2 separate regions of the Homo sapiens genome follow, and region 2 is linked to region 1. The links are contacts of gene promoters, found by promoter capture Hi-C in blood cells and fetal thymus (Javierre and others, 2016). All regions are on one chromosome and are shown on one strand. Each heading gives the region's core, a stretch centred on a gene start or on the middle of the fragment in contact. The rest is flanking DNA. Distances are from core to core; before and after follow the strand shown. Region 1 holds the start of SNAPC3 (small nuclear RNA activating complex polypeptide 3). Region 2 overlaps LOC124902123 (a long non-coding RNA gene).

Region 1 (5,855 bases), core at 1,452-3,951:
GGAAAGATGGGTTGTGGTAATCTGGAAAGGAATCTTTGGGCTTTTAAAAAAGTGGTATGGGCAAGGTGTGGCGGCTCACGCATGTAATCCTAGCACTTTGGGAGAACGAGTTGGGCAGATCACATGAGGTCAGGAGTTGAAACCAGCCTGGCCAACATGGTGAAACCCGTCTCTACAAAAAATGCAAAAAAGTTAGGCAGCCGAGGGTGCAGGCACCGGTAATCCCAGCTACTCCGGAGGCTGAGGCAGGAGAATCGCTTGAACCCGGAGGCAGAAGTTGCAGTGAGCAGAGATCACGCCACTGCACTCCAGCCTGGGCAACAGAGTGAGACTGCATCTCAAAAAAATAACGTAACATAACATAACATAGAAGTGGTATGTTTCAGATGGGAGAGAGGCCACATGCATCCTGAGCCATCTGAAAGAGAAAGTGGTTGAAAATAAATCTGGAAAGGCAAATTTGGGATATATGTGGAAGGCTTCAAATGTCTAGCTAAGGAGTTTGAAATTTTTCCATATAGGAGATGTAGGGCCATAGACCATTTTTAAGCAAAATGGCTTGCTCAGGCGACAGCATGATGGATAAATCAGTGGGAGAAATGACTGTACTTATCAAAGACACTTAAGAACCTTGCACAGTGCTCCAGGTGTTGCTGCTGTAAAAGTCAGCAGTAGGGACCAGGGGAACAGATTTAGCAGTTATTATGAAAGAAAACCCAAGTAGAGTTGAAATGACTGCCTGAATATTTGAGGGGGATAATAGCGTAGGATCAAGAACGACAGAACATAGCTGAGGTAGTATGAAATAAGTGGACTATAAATTGGAAATTATAAATTTCACTATTACATGCACAATTTCTCTATATTATCATACAACAGTGCCTCTCAAAGAGTGGTAGGCAGACCAGAATTCATCTATGACCTATTTGTTAACCAATCTGTACAGAAAATGACAGTAAGCATTTAGAAACTTCCATTATCATTGAATAATTTTGTCTATTGAATTTAATTAAAAATTTGAACTTATATTGTGTTTGTCTTTTTTAATTCCATTTTTCTAGTAATTCTTTTTATAGTATTTTATCAAAGCATAAATCTGTCAAAGATTAAAAATTTTTAAAAACAAGAACTGTCCTTTACCACAAATAGTTTGAAAAACACTGTCAGAGTATTTAGGTTGCCCCCCAGATCTAAGTAGATTACCTCTATAAACAAACATTCAAAAATATTAAAAAATAAACACAAGTTTGAATATGGACTGAATATTATAGATTATGTATTTACGGTTTTCTTAGGTATAATAATACCACAATAATTATGTAGGAGAATGATACTTTTAGAAGCTATATGCTTATGTATTTACGGGTAAATTATCATGTCTAACTTACTGAATGGGGGATAGCAAAATGAAAAAACACACAGCAGGCATCCCATACACACGGCTAAAGTAAATATGGTCAAATATTAAGAACAGCTGAATTTAAGGGGTGGGTATACAGACAACAATCAATACTGCACTTTCAACTTTTCAAAACATAATGTTGAAAAAATGTTTAAATAAATAGGTCATAAAAACCAAGTCCTCCATACCCCAAAGTCACCAGGTCAGTATTCTCCGGAATGACTTCTGGATCCTCACCGTCCTCAAGGCATTTCAGTTTATCAAGGCTAAAACAAAAAGGAAAAGCAATACTTTAAGGTCGACTCTGCATCTGGTTCACAGCGAGTTAGGGTTGTTTTCCTAAATACATTACTGAATTACGAAGTCAGATAAAATCCAGCAGGCGGCTCAGAGAGGCCAGAACTTAAGACAACGATTTCTGTGATTATATTTTATAATGAAAAGGCCGATGAAGGCAGCCAGTACTGTTAAATGGAGAAAGAGATTAAAGTTATTTTTATATTTTCATCCCCAAATAAGGCACTTTTAAGAAATATTTCAGTAACAGAATACCCGGAAGGTCCCCAAAAGAAACCAGTTAGTCGGGGTTTTAACACTCCTCTGATGAAGTCTCCCGCAGCTTCACCATTACTCAGGTTCCTCCATTGTCAAAGTGTCTGTCAATGGCAGGTACACGTCGCTGTTGCCCTGATTGCTTTTCTTTATTAACAAGCACTCTTAGAATAAGCAAATGGAAAAACTAGTCTTTGATGCAGCTGTCTTGTCCCTTTGCTCCAACTCGTAGAAACTGTGCATTCGGGTCCCAGGACTTCTCCTGGTGTCCCAGGAAGGCTCCAGCGGGTTGAAAGCTTTAAAGGGTAATACTCCTAGCCCAGGTCTAAACCACAGGCCCTTCTCAGGGATGAGTCCCAGAGGAGCGCACGAGCAAGGCTGCACCCTGTTTGACCCCAAGCTGCAAGAGCCCCTTTGCTCCGCACTCACCCGCACACCGCCCTCAGCTCAGCCGCCGCCTCCAGGCTGCAGTCCAGATCCCTGGCCACCGCGGCATCCTCCCGGTCGGAGTCAGCTGCCTGGCTCCCAGGCAGAGCGGATGCCGGCGGCTCCCTCAGCGACAAGTCCCCGGCCCCGCGCAGACGGCCCCGCCACAGCTCCCCAAAGGCGCCCACATGGAAAGCGCGCGTATTTAGCTCGGGAAGCTCATACTCTGGAAAGTTGCAGCCGCCACTGCCGGAGACTGGGTCCTGCCTGCCACCCACCCCGCTACACGTAGGGCCACCTCGGCTTCCTTCAGCCATGTTCGCCCCACTCCTTCCCCTGCAAAAGCCTGCAGATCAAGGCCTCGCAGAGCGTGATGGAAGTTGTAGTTGCTTGGGGCGCCCGGCCGGCGAGCGGCGAGGCGGCGCGGGCAGGGCATCAGAAACTACATTTCCCGGCAGGCCATGGGCAGGCCCGCCCCAGGGCGCGGCACCGCGAGGCTCTACGTGCAGGGCGCAGCATTGTTCTCCGACCCGGGCGGTGCGGGAACCGTTGCGGCTGTCGGTTAACCGCAGCGGGTGGGGCTGGGTTTCTGGTCCCCGAGTTACGTAGCAACTGTCTCTGCCCGGTAGGGCGGCCTCGCCAGGCGCTTAGGCCCCGTTCCTTGCGGCTTTCGGACTAAGGGGTGCAGGGCTTTTTCTTGACTGGGGTTCAAGGACTGCTCTGCTGCCTGATTGCTTTAGAGCCTAAGAAACAAGGAGGGCGAGGGCCGAGACCAGGGACACGACCAGCCCTCCAGATCTGGTTCTTTCACAAGCTCCGCAGAGGCCCCATGTTGGTGTGCGTGTGCAGTAGTGTTTCAGAGCGTCTGTGTATCACACGCTACATGATTAACCCTAATGTATGTTTTTAATGTTTTTAAAAATTACAACAACCTTTCCGGATAGGGCGTATCACCCCGTGTTGCTGTTGAGGAAGGATTTACCTGCGGGGAAAATAGAAGCAGGATCGGAACTCAGTCTGGCTTCAGATGGAGCTCTCTCCATTTCTCAGAGGCCCTGAAGGATACAGCAGGACATACTATTTATTTATTAGACTGTAATCACATGCCATATAATTCACCCATTTGAAGTGTTCAGTGATTTTTGGTATATTCACAGGCTTGGGCAACCATCACCACTATTTGAGAGCATTTTTACCACTCGAAAGAAGAAACTTGTACTTTTTAGCTATCACCCCTGATCCTCCCAACTCCTCCAGCCCTAGCCAACCAAGAACCTACTTTGTCTCTCTAGATTTAACTAATCTGGACATTTAATATAAACGGAATTATATGGTCTTTTGGTGGCTGGCTTAATGTTTACAAGGTTTGTTACAGGTAGTTAGGCATGAGCAGGGCAGGAGAGGGCTCTTCCCTCACCCACTAGGAATGTGGGGTGATGCTTAGGCATTTATCACATTGCCTCTAAAAGTGATAAATTGGCAGCCGGTGCCAGGGAGAGGCCATTTCCTGATGGCCCACACCTGTTGCACTAAAGTGCTCGTTGAATGCAGGTGACAGGGAGAAGCAACTTCCTGGGCATATGCATTAAGAGACAAAATCGGGGAGTATGACCTTTCAGGGGGACTCTATCGGAAAAGGGAAGAAAGCCTCAGATGGGCACGCATACAACTTCATACATATTGCGCTGTGCTCACTTCCCAAGGGTAAGGAGGGCACTGCGCATGGAGGCAGCCCACCCTAAGGGAAGAATCATGGGAAAGGAGCCAGCCTGTAAAGTCCTAGGATCGAGGTCAATATCACAGTTGACCTCAGTGACAGCTTGGGACTCTTCCGAGCGTGCTTTCCTTTCTTTCCTAAAGGCCTTTTAAATAAGCTTCCACTCCTGCTCTGAAACTTGCCTCAGTCTCTTTTTGTGCCTTATTGCCCCTCGGTCAAATTCTTTCTTCTGAGGAGGCAAGAACTGAAGTTGCTGCAGACCCATACAGATTTGCCCTGGTAACTTGGATACCTGCCACCTGTAACACGTTCATCCATTTTGTAGTATGTGTCAGTACTTCATTCCTTTTTTGGCTGAATAATATTGCATTGTATGTATATGCCACATTTTATTTATCAAAAAGTTTTTACCTTTTGGCGTTGCTATGAACATTCATGTACACATTTTTGTGCAAATACGTTTTCATTTCTCTTGGGCATGTGCCCAGTAGTATACAGTCAGCCCTCCCTATCTGTGGGTTCTGCATCCTCCAATTCAACCAACCACATATCAAAAATTACAGTATTCCCAGGTTGCAGAACCTGAGGATAAGAGGAATTTTCCTATGGGCGGATTCCACAGGGCTGACTGCAAGAAGAGCATCTGTCAATTTTGGAGTCCACAGGGGTCTTCGAAACAGTCCACCCTGCAGATACCAAGGGATTTCTGTATTTATGGAACTCTATTTTCAACTATTTGAGGAACTGCCAGATTTTTTTAAAGTGGCTGTCCCATTTTACTCCCCTCCCCAGCAGGATTCTCCACATCCTTGCCAACACTTATCTGAACTTTTTATTATAACCGTGTCAGTGAGTGTGAAATGGTGTTTCATGACTTTTTATTTGCATCTCCCTAATTATATTGATGGAACACGTTTTCATGTGCTTATTGACCATTTGCATATTTCTTTGGGGAAATGTATATTCAAGTTCTTTACCAATTTTTAAATAAAGTTATTGTGTTTCCATAGGAGCTCTGGTTTTTTTTTTCTTTCTTTTTTTTTTTTTTTTTTTTTGTTTTGAGACAGAGTTTCCCTCTTATTGCCCAGGCTGGAGTGCAATGGTGCGATCTTGGCTCACCGCAACCTCTACCTCCTGGGTTGGAGCGATTCTCCTGTCTCACCCTCCTGAGTAGCTGGGATTACAGGTGCATTCCACCACACCTGACTAATTTTTTTGTATTTTTAGTAGAGATGGGATTTCATCATATTGGTCAGGCTGGTCTAGAACTCCTGACCTCAGGTGATCCGCCCACCTCTGCCTCCCAAAGTGCTGGGATTACAGGCGTGAGCCACTGCGCCCGGCCTTCTGGTTGTTTTGTTGTTGTTTGTTTGTTTGAGATAGTGTCTTGCTTTGTCACCCAGACTGGAGTGCACTGGCACAATCAAGGCTCACCGCAGCGTGTCAGGCCTCTGAGCCCAAGCTTAGCCATTATATCCCCTGTGACCTGCACATATACATCTAGATGGCCTGAAGCAACTGAAGAACCACAAAAGATGACATTCCACCATTGTGATCTGTTCCTGCCCCACCCTAACTGATCAATTGACCGTATGACAATACACCCTCCCCGCCCTTGCGATAACGTACTTTGTAATATTCTCCCTGCCCTTGAGAATGTACGTTGTGAGATCCACCCCCTGCCCACAAAAAAATTGCTCCTAACTCCACCGCTTATCCCAAACGTATAAGAACTAATGATAGGCTGGGTGCCGTGGC
Region 2 (5,855 bases), core at 2,095-4,594, 270 kb after region 1:
CCATTTAAAAAACTTTGACTTTTACCCTGACTGAAATGAGCAACCATTGCAGTTTTCAGCAAAGGAGTGGCATGGGCTAACAAGTTTTGAAAAGACTGGATATTGAGGGTAGAGTGAGGTGGATGAGGTAGAAGCAGGAGACGAGGCCATCACAGTGACCCAGACCATAGTATGATGTCTGGGGTTTGGGCCTGAATGACCAGAAGGGTGGAGTTGCATCAGCTGAGATGGGCAAAGTGGCAGACTGAGCAGGTTTTGGAGGAATGCTCAGAAGGCATTATGGACATAATGAGTTTAAGATCCTTATTAAGGATCTTATAAGACATCTTGATGTTGAGAGGGCAATTAGATAAATGACACTGGAATTTGGAAAAGAGGCTTGGGTTGAGATAAAAAGTTGTGAGTCTTTGGTATGCAGATGGCATTGAAAGCCATGTGACTGAAGACTTATGAGAAAACCTCAGGAAATGCCTCCAATATTTCATCAGTAATTATGATTTTGGGTGAAATACATGTTCTGTTCACCCTCAAAGCTGAATTAAGCCTGCTAAGATTCAGATTGGATAAAATGTAATATAGATGAAAAATACTAAGCACAAACTTAAAAATGAGGTCTTCTGATAAAACAATTAGGGCCTTTGTCTGGCTTTTTGTAGACTTCCATATAGCTAAAAAAGGCAAAGTGTCATTTGAGCTTTAGAGGAAGGGGAGAGGAAGCCAAGCATAAAATCTCAAATTTTAATTAAGAAAATTTGACAATGTTAAACAAGAAGCAGCTGCGAGGGGGGAGATTTGTGTGCATTTTTAGCCCTGCTTTGAAAGCCTCAGATTGATTGTCTTTGGAGCAGAATGGAGCAAATTGTCACAAATCTTGTTTTCTGAGAAACCAGTTATGTCAACATTACAGCATGCCACAGCCAGCATGCCAAAAATAACACGAAAAGGAACGGCTGCAAATCTATTTAGGATTAAGCCAGTAATTATTGCGTTTGTGATCATTTCCAAGAATTGTTCCTACCCAAATATTAAATGGAAAATAAGAGCTCATTCCAGCCCTGAAAGTTTTCCATCTCATTTTTTTCTTCACTCACTAAAGATTTATGTTAATAAACTATTAATAGTTTTAAACAGAGAACTTCTATGTTGAAATTAAAAGCAAAGTCATTTTAATAATATGTTGGAGGCTTTATATTTTTCTTTATTAAAAGAGAAAAACATTTCTCTTTTTTCTTTTTATTTCTGTGTCTGAAGTTACTTATAACAATAAAACTTCTTAAAACCCAGACTGAAGGCATGTGTTCATTTAAAGTCTTGAGACACCACCTATTTCCTGATCTCCTCTACATTATTAAATAAGCAAATCTTAATTCATCCAAAATTCTAGTTGGCAAACTCTGGGTGACCATGGAGATTAGAGTGGTGATAAGGGAACCGGTGTAGTGATGGAGCTAACCTCTCTTTAATTTGGCTATTAAATGGCTTCTCCGAAAAGAGACGGAATCCCTTATTTCAGGAAAATGGATTTAAAAAAAAATGATTACAGCATAATTATTTTAAAAATACGCTTTAATATTTATCTGGCTGCTTCTTCCCCTGTTCCCATATTCCCCCTACAAGTTAGGTATATCAGCAGATCATGTAAATATTTATAGTACTTGTTAATCTATTAGGAAATGTATATTCTGACATTTTAGCGCCATGGGGGATTCTTTTTTTTTCTCTAATTTTTGTCTGAGATTTATGCATAGCTTTTATCCAGTAGGAAGAAGGACACATTCTTCCCCTACCCTTTCTCGCCCAGGTGAGCTTCCTAAGGCCAAATCACGCAAAGTTTGACCACAAAAGGTGACTTACTGACTAGCTGTCAGAAAGATGAATGCTTCCTTTAAAAATAGCAGCATGGTGTTCCTTGTCAACAAAACTGTGGCTCTTAGAAAGGATGCCATAGGCCTTATGGTTAGGACCGTCTGGGTAGGTTCAGTTCATTTGTAGAACAAAGATTTCTGTTGCAATGCTCTTTTAGCCATCCAGCTTCATTCGTTTTAAGGGCTAGACCTTGTTCTTCAGCCATTTGGCAATCTGTGTATGGAGTACTGGATACAGTGTGGTTTAGTGCAGTGGTTCCCAGCTTTTCACATCTTAAATTCTACAAATCTTTTTTCGGGGAATGGGGAGGACGAGGTGGAGAGGCACCTGTTATTGCTGTCTAAGCAGAAAGTGAGATGGCGTGAGGGTGCGGGGAGGGACGGTATTGCAGATTGGAGCACTACCATGTACCTTTAGGATGCCCTCCTCCTCATCTTCCTAGATGAGCTCTGTGTCCCTAGACTTAGTTTACACAAACACACAAAAAATAGTAAGTGTCCATGATTTTGATTATCAAAATAATCCTTGGCTGGATAATCATTCTTGGGCGATATTGTTGGGGCGAATGAGGGGACTGAGGGAGCACAAAATCTCAATAACTGATGCTAAAACCCTGTGTCCCCCATTTGGTCATGGAGCAACAAGTCAATACCAGGTCAACAGAATCTTCTATACTTAAAATCCATTTTCGTGGCTCTTATACAAGCCACTGGGAAGCCCACACATTCAACATTTGTTCCATTTTTCCTTCCAGATTAACTTTATTTTTCCACATCCCCGATAGTGATTTTTCCATTAACATTTGATGCTCAATTTTCATTTTCCCTAACATTGGTCCCTGGAAGTCTTCCAAAATCTTAGGAAGCATAATAGATTTGATTTCATCTTGTTCCTTTCTCACCTGTTTTTTTTTTTTTTTAATAAAGCTGGTTTCTTTCTTTATTTGAGCAATCTTCTGCTCTCCAAAGGAAGACTCTTTAAAGCTTAGTCCAAAGGAAAAGACTCCTATTCCAAGGCCAGCAAATTTCTTCCTCCACGTGGCCTCTAGCAGCCAGCCAGCCACCAACTGGCCTCTTGTTACAGCCTTTTGTTGACTCTCTTATGGATGCTGCTAACAGTCTCTAGCTTTCCAGCCACTTTCAGCTCTTCTGACAGTAGCCCCTTTTTGGGAAGGACCTGGAGATGAGGCTAAGGCTGCGTTGTTCCCTATCTTTGTTGGATGTGTTGCAATAAAACAACACAGGTAATTCACATTTGAGCTGGAGATTAAACTCAGGTTGGGCTTCCAAGCTGTCACCTGGGACAGTCATTGAGGTTGTGCTTCTTTATCCTGGTTTGTGGCTTGGACGTTTGTTTAGCCTTAAAACAGGATTTCAAATGACCAAAGGAGATTCTGTTGGACTTTTCCTTGGCAAACTCAGGAAGGTATGTCGTGCTTTCAGTCTTCACTGGCTGAGAATGATAGATAGAAGGAAAGCTGGGAACCTCCTAGGCCTTTCATCCCATTCTGAAGTCTCTGGGTTCAGACCTCAGTTCGTGTGTAATGTGGACGATTGATGATTGCAATGGATGTCATTTTTGTTGTTATTCCAAGCAAATGTACACTTTTTTCTTCTCTATGGTATATTTTATTTGTTTTGTTATACCAAATTGTTCAAATAATGTTGAGTATCAATGACCGGGCACCTACTGAAATAGGAAGGGTTTTAAATGGTAGGCAATTATACAAAATTAAAAGGATGAAAATGGCAATTAATGGAAGAAACACAGATACCAAAAATGAAATATTAAGAAAAGAGTAGAAAGTCTGCCAATAGGACATTCCATTCTTTAGTTTGGGGAAAGGCCCTCATGCAACATTTTCTGTGCATTTCCAGTGGGCATAGGTGTCTAAGTTCTAAAACTTCTTTTCTAAGTAGGCCTAATTCAGAGAACCCAGCTTATTAGATATAAGTGCAAGAAAACAAGCTTTATAGCCATTTACCTCCACCCTTTGACTGAGTGGGGAAAGGGAAAAAGGAGGGAATTAAGGTCCCGGCACTCATGCTTCAAGGCCAAGAACTGCATTGTGGAGATCTGTCTGGGGAGGGTGGCTGTCACGCTGCAAACCTCAGAGGTGGGCACTGTCAGCCCCATCTGCTCAGGAGGGATAACAATGCTGCTGGTGGGACTTTGGGCAGATCATATAATAGCGTGGACCAGAGTCTGTTGTTTCCAGATGCCCCAGGGGAAGGCCAGAGAAAGGCTCCTTCTGAGTGAGGCTGACTGGGGGTAGTCAGAGCACTTATGTAGAGTGGCTAGGCTTTATTGGAGCAGACCAATACAAAAAAAGTACTAAAAAAACCAGTTTCACTAATAATTAAATGAAATTCCACTCACTGCACTTTAACCAATAAAATATCTTTGTTTTTTTTTTGTATACTAAACCCTACGTAGACTTGAACCAATTCAGAAGACAGTCTGTTGGCCAAAGGGCAAAATCCACAGCACCAGGTAGCATTTGCTTGAAGTTCCAAGGCACCACGAGAGATTGCTTTCCCCCAAGACTACCAAGGCAGTGTATATATGTGTGTGTGTTCTTGTATGCACACACAGCACACAAAGGACAAGTCTCTTTGCCTTGTGCAGAAATATTCTGATTGTTTCAAGATTGAATGAGCTTTCCCGCTTTCCCACTTTCCCACCTTGTCTTCCACCTGTGTGAAGTTCGTCCATGAGAGGGGTCTGCCCCACTGAAAATCTCCCATTTGGTTTTGGAGCTGCAGGAGCAGCAGGCTCAGGCAAGTGCTTCAATCCACTTTGCCAAGCTTTCTGCTGTACTCCAGACAACTTGGCATGCTGCAGCAGGGGCAAAACACTGACGTCCTCTTTTCCTTTTTTTTTTTTGAGATGGAGTCTTGCTCTTGTTGCCCAGGCTGGAGCAACCTCCGCCTCCTGGGTTCAAGTGATTCTCCTGCCTCAACCTCCCGAGTAGCTGGGATTACAGGTGCCCGCCACCATGCCGAGCTAATTTTTGTATCCCTAGTAAAGACGGAGTTTTGCCATGTTGGCCAGGCTGGTCTCGAACTCCTAACTTCATGATCTGCTCACCATGGCCTCCCAAAGTGCTGGGATTACAGGCGTGAGCCACTGTGCCCAACCCTCTTTTCCTTTTTCAAATGTCAATGGAAAGTTGATTGGAAAGGACAATTTGGCTACCTTTTGGTACCCTGCAGGATTACCTTTATATCAATCATTTGCTGATGCAGGGACTTTCAGAAATTTTGTGGTCTCTTGCAAACAGCCTTGGCAAAACATAGACCTTCAGTATGTGTTGAATGAACCCGTGGATTGCTGGTGTCAGAAGTCCTTTCGTGGACTTGCCTCTGCTGGGGACCTCAGGTTGTGTTGCCTTCTGGGAGGGCCACAGAGAATAGACAGAAAAGAAATCTAAAAGATTCTTATGGGTTTAACACAGGACTCGGCCTTAGCATAGAGAGGGGAAGGTTGCAAGTGGAGGCAGTTGCCTCACCAGGACAGTGGCTGGGCAGAATGGTTTCACAGAGCAAGGTGAATAGACGGAGTGGAAGATGATAGAGATTGCTGAGGACACAAACTCATGCTGCATCTCTCATGGCAGAGTGTTGGTGCTGCTATTTGAATATTAGTCAGTGTTCAACAGAAATCACTCTAGGTACTTTAAGAAGAAAAGAATTTAATACAGGAAATTAGGTGCTTACAAAATCATTAGAAGTGTTGGTCAAGTAGGTTCCAGGTGTGGCATCCATGAATGTTCTTGGGCAGGGGTGCCTGAAGTAATCCACCAGGGCAGACGTATTCAGGCAACCTGAACATCTGGCACAATAGCAGGGGTAGAGGGGGAGGCAATTCCTGCCAGGAAGATAGCAGCTTCCGGCTGGGTGACTAAGAGGCCACGGCAATCCCCTTAAGATTTGTGGGTGGTTTGGTGACTCCTGGCACCTTCCTTGGTATTGGAAATGCCCGTCCCA

The links. Contacts are between HindIII fragments. The CHiCAGO score rates a contact against its expected background, and 5 or more counts as called.
Region 2: a contact is called between a fragment that was not itself captured here and the fragment with the promoter of SNAPC3 in region 1, in 1 of 17 cell types (endothelial precursors). The highest score is 5.4, in endothelial precursors.

What each region holds. Positions count from the first base shown.
Region 1 is chr9:15,419,722-15,425,576 of GRCh38, reverse strand. SNAPC3 (small nuclear RNA activating complex polypeptide 3) reads right to left here and starts at 2,701. Exons shown (of 9, transcript NM_001039697.2): 1 at 2,384-2,701; 2 at 1,591-1,668. The coding sequence starts at 2,697. RefSeq lists an enhancer at 2,225-2,344 and a silencer at 2,685-2,974. The HindIII fragment of the contact is 2,004 bases long and covers 2,253-4,256 here.
Region 2 is chr9:15,151,048-15,156,902 of GRCh38, reverse strand. All of the region lies in intron 2 of LOC124902123 (a long non-coding RNA gene), which reads right to left. Among named protein-coding and RNA genes, the nearest start is that of TTC39B, 150 kb to the left of the region's middle. The HindIII fragment of the contact is 985 bases long and covers 2,852-3,836 here.